2 separate regions of the Homo sapiens genome follow, and region 1 is linked to region 2. Evidence: promoter capture Hi-C in 16 types of primary human blood cells and fetal thymus (Javierre and others, 2016). All regions are on one chromosome and are shown on one strand. Each heading gives the region's core, a stretch centred on a gene start or on the middle of the fragment in contact. The rest is flanking DNA. Distances are from core to core; before and after follow the strand shown.

Region 1 (3,616 bases), core at 90-2,589, 520 kb after region 2:
CTGTTTGAGACTAAAAAATCCATCAAGAAGTTGTTTGCATTTTACTGAGATATTTGTTGAATTCAATATTTCCAGAAAACCCTCAAGATACTTGTCACTCTATAGGGACACAAAATTTTCTTATCTAATATGTACAATCTTTAACTTGACAATTTCACAAGGCATATTGATATAAATCATATTGCTCAATATCTGGTGACTCAGTAGAAAGTGATCTTCAGTTTCAACAAGCAGTCTTTTAATTCATGACGCTTTTTCTTAAGGAAATTAACCTGAGGACTTTTTCCCATACATCTAAAGAGTACTAGAAGTTGCTTTCAAAACATAGAGTAACTTGGTTTCCATGTAGTATTTATAAGAAAAAAAAATCTGTAGATATTCACTTATAAAGGCAAGCTTGGAATCCTCTAATTCGTCATTAAAGTGTGCTTTGTATGTAGGCAATCGCCTAACCATAGATACAAAACTGAGTTATCTTAAAATGGCTGATGGAACACTGGCTTTCCATGAAAATATTCAGTCTGAAAATGTAATACTCCTGCCAATCTAGATCAAAATAGAACTTGTTCTCCCTTAATAACGAGGTGTTCTATCTAAAAAACATTGTGCTCTCTCTCTTTGGTGGTCTAGCAGTTAGGAATAAAAATTAAAAATAAGTAAAATACACTTTTCTCTCAATCAAACTAATATTTACTGGTCACTATGGAAGCAAATGGGAGCGGACTAGTCAGGTATGCAAATAACCTTGCCTCGCCAGGTATAAAGTGACCTGCCACAGAAGTTTGGAAAAGGGAGGTAATATAAAGGGCTGGGATATGAGGACCACTCTTTACAGCAGAAAGGCATCTGAGCAGAGCCTTGAGGAGTACATAAAATTTCAACATATGGTATTAAATGGGAGTGGATTGGCAAGAATAGGACCAAAGAGCGTGTCCTCTGGAGTGTTTTCCCATAAAACTAAGTAATCATCACACCAGCTGAGAACCATAAGTTCCTTGACCCAGGTAGTCTGCACTTCCTTTTTAGAAGACGAATTTTTGTATCTTATTCCTCCTCAAAGGCTGGGCCAGGTATTATTGGCCATCCAGAAATAAGTCCCCAGTACTTAATGCAGCATCTGGCAGAAAATGTGGGCATGCCAAATACATGTAGGTTGAAATGATGTTTAGAAATATCACATTAGGTTTATACATTCATAACACATGATTGAAAAATTCCGGTAAACGGATTAGCTAAAATCCAATGAAAATTATTAATTAAGCCTTTCATTTGGCACAATTAAAAATAAAACCCTATGTTGATTGAATTTTTCATTTTGGATCCAATTATGCTGTCACATAGGTATAGCTGGAGTATATGAGTCACCCAAAATTCTATTAATCAAATCTAGAAATAATAATATAATAATGTGTGTTAATCATTCTAATACAGCAAATGAGACACAGAAAAACAAAACCAACAATATTGTAAATTACCCAATGATCAATCTTTGTTGGAAACAATGTCCTACTCAGCAGTGGGACAAGAGCAATACCTAAGAGTTGAACAACCCAGAAGAAAAAATATGAATCGTCAGGGAAAGTCTGCTTAGAGGGAAATAAGAATCCAAGGTGTATTGCTAGATTTTGCAATAACTAGATGTGGCAATACAGAAATGTGATTTTAATTGGAGGAGGAAGATAATTATAGCTTGCAAGCCAACTAGTTAATCTAAGTGACAAACTTTGGCCCCACACCCAAGAAAAGAGGGTGAACCCAAAATAGGAGTTTATCAAGTTTCCATTACAAATGTGTTCAAGACACCTGAGCCACCCTGAAACCAAACCCTGAAACCAAGGAGTGGTGAGGGGGGGGGGGGGGTTATAGGTTACTAATAATTAATTATTAAATTTAAATAGTTTCTATAAATTTACATATGAAAACAATAAATTCTGTGTTATATCTTTGGAAGTAGCATTATGCTGGTGATCAAGTGCAATGGGATAAAACACAGTTAGCAGGCATTCCTTAAAAAATATTCCCTAAGCTAATACTAGAAACAGAAAAAGAGAGGTCAGATTAATCCTACAGATTTAGAAGTGATCCAAGTTAAGGCAACCTACATGATAATGGAATTGAAAACCACGTCATCTAAGGAACAGTTGAATGAACTGGTGATCCATAACCTGGAAAATAAAAGACTTAGAAACACAGAGTAATCTTGTCAAATACCCAAAAGATTCTCCATCAGCAAAGCTATATTCTGTGTGGCAGATTTCAGTTAAATAGAAAGATAAGCTTTTTAATAATTAGAGCACTTCAAAGGAAGGTGAAGTGCTTCATGAGACAATGAGTTTCTCATCACTAGAAATATTTTAGTAGAGATTGGAGATATCTGATAAGGGGTTCCGTTTAGTGTTGAATATTTAACAAGAGAAGAAAGAAAGGACAGATGTCTATGAGTACCCACTGTGTAGAACACTTTGTAGAAGAACACTTTGTATGTGTTATCTAAATTGGTATTCTCAGATTTATGAATTGGATATTATTTCTCACGTGAAGATTAAAAGAGATTAAGCAATTTACCATACACCCTGTAACAGGCAATGCTGGAAGGTGAAGCCTGGCAATGACCTCTAATATCCTTTGCAAATTCTGTTCTGGTTGAAGCTATAACAGTGAATGTATTATTGGTCTAGATAATTCTATCCTGATAATTTGTCTATTTATCCAGTCTGGTATTATTTCTGTCAGAATATCCACAGACTTTTGGCCAAAGAGCATATTTAGCTTCCCCCATGACATTAAATTCAAAAGATAAATCATACTTTAGGTTCTTTCCAGCTGAATTCTGTAATTTTGATGACCAGAATTCCTAGCAACTCATTTACACTAGAAAGGGCAGAGTTTTGGGGCCGGGTACGGTGGCTCACGCCTGTAATCCCAGCACTTTGGGAGGCTGAGGCAGGCAGATCACAAGGTCAAGAGATTGAGACCATCCTGGCCAATATGGTGAAACCCCATCTCTACTAAAAATACAAAAATTAGCTGGGCGTGGTGGCACATGCCTGTAGTCCCAGCTACTTGGGAGGCTGAGGCAGGAGAATTGCTTGAACCCGGGAGACAGAGGTTACAGTGAGCTGAGATTGCACCACTGCACTCCAGCCTGGGCGACAGAGCGAGACTCCATCTCAAAAAAAAAAAAAAACAAAGAAAGAAAGGGCAGAGTTTTTATTCACATGGCTCAATTCAGGCAATTGGTTGTGGGCTTCCTGGATTAATTTTATTAAGAATAATTCTCCAGCCAGTCTGGGTTCAGCAGGAAGATGTGTTATCAATTAGTAATGTCTGACATGAGTACAGGAGAGTGGCAGCAAGAATGACTTGTGTTTGTTCTCTCTAAGCTCCACATTTCCTAAAACTATTTTTCTATTTGTAATCATCAGCTTTTTAGTGAATACGGTGAGTAAATTATTCTACCAACTAACTGTTAAAAGTAATACTTACTGCCATTTTTCCTAACACCACTCATGGAGGGTACAGGAATATATCATGAAGCAAATGAAAAGCTGCCCACAAGACTAGATTGATTATCAAAAGGGTTTTTTAAAATACAAATTTAATATAAATTTGAATT
Region 2 (3,631 bases), core at 128-2,627:
TAGCTTCCAAAAGGAACAACTTGGAGGAGTATCTTTCAGAATTTGAGCACTGATAGATTAAACATAAAATCCTCATATTTCATAGTTCCATCTGGAATGCATGAGAGTAGAGCATCTGCTTGCCAAAATGTGCCAATGGTCATAAAATGCCACTTCATGCACATGACATAGTGGTGGATTTTCAGGGTCATATCCTTTGGAGAGCTAGGCTTGGGTATTTCTCCCTCAGATCAACCAAGGGTTTCCTTTTTTTTTTTTTTTCAAGCTTCTAGTGGGTATGAGGCATTTTCACTTAGTAAACTTCCTTCCTTCAGCATAGAAGTGACTTTTGGTTCTTTAATAAGTAAAAAACAGGCTTGTTATTTTTTGGCCCATTCTAATTTAGGATATTGTCAGCACTGATTGAGCTCAATGGAGCTCAATCTGTATTTTTTGCATTATTGCATCTCAGTACTGAAAAGATTGGAAGAGAGAGACATGTAATATGACAGAGTGTGGACATTGGAATTAGAGAGATCTGTATTTGAACCCTGGCTCCATCATGTAGGAGCTCTGTGACCTTGGGAGACCTCTCAGAGGCTTAGGGTCCTTATCTACAAACCCTTGCAGCATTTTGAGAGGACTGAAGGAGCTGGTGCATATGAGGTGCCTGGCACTGTGCCTGGTGCACAGTGGAGGCTCAGCAAGCAGGACCCATCACCAATGACAGAGTCACGCTGTGCACAGGCATGGAGCACAGTGCTTCATGCAGAGTAGGTGCTCCCAAAATTTAGGTTTCTTAATGTTCTGTGAACACTGAATACTAGTAGAAACGGAGGTGGGTGGCTTCCTGCAGCCCCATAGGAAGAGGGTAGAGTTGCCTCCATCTGCCTGGATGGAACTGCAAATGGGCCTTGAACCAATGGCCTTGTAAGTCCTTTCTCATTTCAGCTTCCAGGATTCCCTATCACATAGTCTAGTTTCTAGACGGGTTTCCTTACATGGCTTTTCTCACAGAGTCTTAATTGAATATGAACTGGATGAGACACAAGCCTTTCCTCATTTAGGAGAAAGAGGCACATATGTGCCCCCTACTCTGGGGACAGGGCCCAGCTGTCACTCTAGCTCAATGTCCCATGGATAAGCACTGCTACAGGCAAGGTTGGTCACTTTGAAGCCAAACCATGAAGCTCTTACTTAACCAATCAGCATGTTTTGTGAGGAGTCCTGACTTAGCAAGAAGCCAGAGTAAAACATTTAATGAGGTATAGGACTCAGGTGAAGTGGCTAAATAACAAATGGAAAAATCAGCAAAGGAGGTAAAAAGGAGGAATACTTGACATGGTTGCCACACCCACTGCTAACAGAATATAAAGCCCTGGAAAGGACCAAGGCTTATCCCAGGGAAAAGGAATCAGGTTTTGAAACTGACTTCCAGAGCTCCACTGCCTCCCTGCACCATGCCCTACAACTTCTGCCTGCCCAGCCTGAGCTGCCGCACCAGCTGCTCCTCCCGGCCCTGTGTGCCCCCCAGCTGCCACGGCTACACCCTGCCCGGGGCCTGCAACATCCCTGCCAATGTGAGCAACTGCAACTGGTTCTGCGAGGGCTCCTTCAATGGCAGCGAGAAGGAGACTATGCAGTTCCTGAACGACCGCCTGGCCAGCTACCTGGAGAAGGTGCGTCAGCTGGAGCGGGACAACGCGGAGCTGGAGAACCTCATCCGGGAGCGGTCTCAGCAGCAGGAGCCCTTGCTGTGCCCCAGCTACCAGTCCTACTTCAAGACCATTGAGGAGCTCCAGCAGAAGGTGAGGAGGTGGGCACCACACTGCCAGCTTAATGAACTACTTATCTATATTTGACATACTAAACTGTGAATGGATCTAAGTCTGTTCACAGTAATGCTGAGAATGATAAAGACATAGATTCACTGGCTTAGGTATGACATCAAGTAGTCTTAGAAAATCTGTTGTAGAGCCACAAAGGAAGGATGCAGGCTGGTGTTAGAGTGAAGCATTAGACCAAAATCAGTCATAGCAATCTTATATGGCGTCTTACTCCAAACCAGAATATCTGATTTTTTGGTTTGATTATGATACCCTGGTTTTGTTTTCAGAGCATTACCGCATTTTCAAAAAGTATGCACCTGAATTATTTTCTATGCTAAGAATTTCCTAAGTAAATCTTCAAATATTTAAAGCCTTTCAAAGCTGTAGCAAAATATAGCATTTATGGCAACACAAGAGAGCTGTTGACTCCAGCAATATCTACAGACACATGGACCATCCTCTAGAGCAGCCATGTGTACAGATGACAATATGGGGCCATCTGTTCTGGAAGAGAAGTAGATATAAGTAAAGAGTCCACAGAGAATTGGGACTGAATACCTGGTGTAGGTTTGGGAGGGATCCCAGAAGAGGCAATGTCTGAGTGGGGTTTGAAGGATGAGTGGGAGTTTATATCCAATTGTACAAGCCCTTGATTCTGGGAGGGAATTGACTGCCCACTGTTCTGTAGATCTGGAAAATTAGATGCCAGAAAGGGGTTGTGCTATTTGAATATCATTCATTTATTTACCCAGAGTTGGAGAGTGTTAGGCACAGTGCTGGGGTGGGGGATAATGTACTGAGTAAGACAGTCTCCTTCCTTCAGGAGCTCACAGTCTAACAGGGGAGATAGATGTGGAAACAAAATGATCACACAAAGGTCATAAGAAGTGTTATTGATTAAGTATGTGGGTTACACAAGGGGTCTTGCTAGTGGGTGAGGGCATTCTGGGTACAGCAAGAAGCTTTTTGCAAAGGCATGAACAAGGGCAATATGAGGGGAGAGTGGAGAGAAGTTAGCAGGTGGAATGTGTTGGATAACCAAGTTGTTCTGGCTTGCCTGGGATTTTTCCCATTTTAGCATCCCAGAAACCCCTCAGTCCTAAGTTAACTGGGATGGTTGGTCACCCAACCGAAGGGTTGGATACCCAGTAACCTAATTATTGCAGGAAGCCAGAAGCAGATAAGAATAGAATTCATGATGAATTCACATTGGTTGTCCTGGTTTTGAAATGATCAGTTTTATGATCAAATCCTCCTTTTATCTCAGAGCTGAAAATCTGAAAGGACTCAAAGCTATTTGGGAGGAATGTGGCTGAAAGAAAATAGCATTTCACTTTAAGGCACAAGGCATTTCTTAGTATAACCCATTTCATGATTAATCCTATCCCCAGATCCTGTGCAGCAAGTCTGAGAATGCCAGGCTGGTGGTGCAGATCGACAATGCCAAGCTGGCTGCAGATGACTTCAGAACCAAGTAAGATTTTCCTAACCATCAGAGCAGTCTAGTAACGGACAGGCTGAATTACAAAGTGATGAGCTCCCTATCCTGGAATGTGGAAGCAGAAATTTCTATTGGGAGGATTCTTGCATTGGGTTAGGATTAGGTTAAATGTCAAAGCCTCTTCAATAGGTGCTCAGATTCTGTGTTTTAAGTTTTTTTTTTTAATTTTTTTATTTTGAGATGGAGTCTCCCTCTCTCATCCAGGCTGGAGTGCAGTGATGCAATCTTGGCTCACTGCAACCTCCGCCTCCCGGATTCAAGTGATTTTCCTGCCTCAGCCTTCCTCGTAGCTGGGATTACAGGCATGCGCCAGCAGGCCCAG

The links. Contacts are between HindIII fragments. The CHiCAGO score rates a contact against its expected background, and 5 or more counts as called.
Region 1: a fragment that was not itself captured here is called in contact with the fragment with the promoter of KRT33B in region 2 in 12 of 17 cell types (neutrophils, M2 macrophages, total B cells and 9 more); the score reaches 8.9 in neutrophils.

The regions. Positions count from the first base shown.
Region 1 is chr17:40,847,066-40,850,681 of GRCh38, reverse strand. No RefSeq gene overlaps it. Among named protein-coding and RNA genes, the nearest start is that of KRT12, 18 kb to the left of the region's middle. The HindIII fragment of the contact is 1,881 bases long and covers 399-2,279 here.
Region 2 is chr17:41,367,559-41,371,189 of GRCh38, reverse strand. It overlaps KRT33B (keratin 33B), which reads left to right and starts at 1,377. Exons shown (of 7, transcript NM_002279.5): 1 at 1,377-1,787; 2 at 3,200-3,282. The coding sequence starts at 1,440. The HindIII fragment of the contact is 2,505 bases long and covers 268-2,772 here.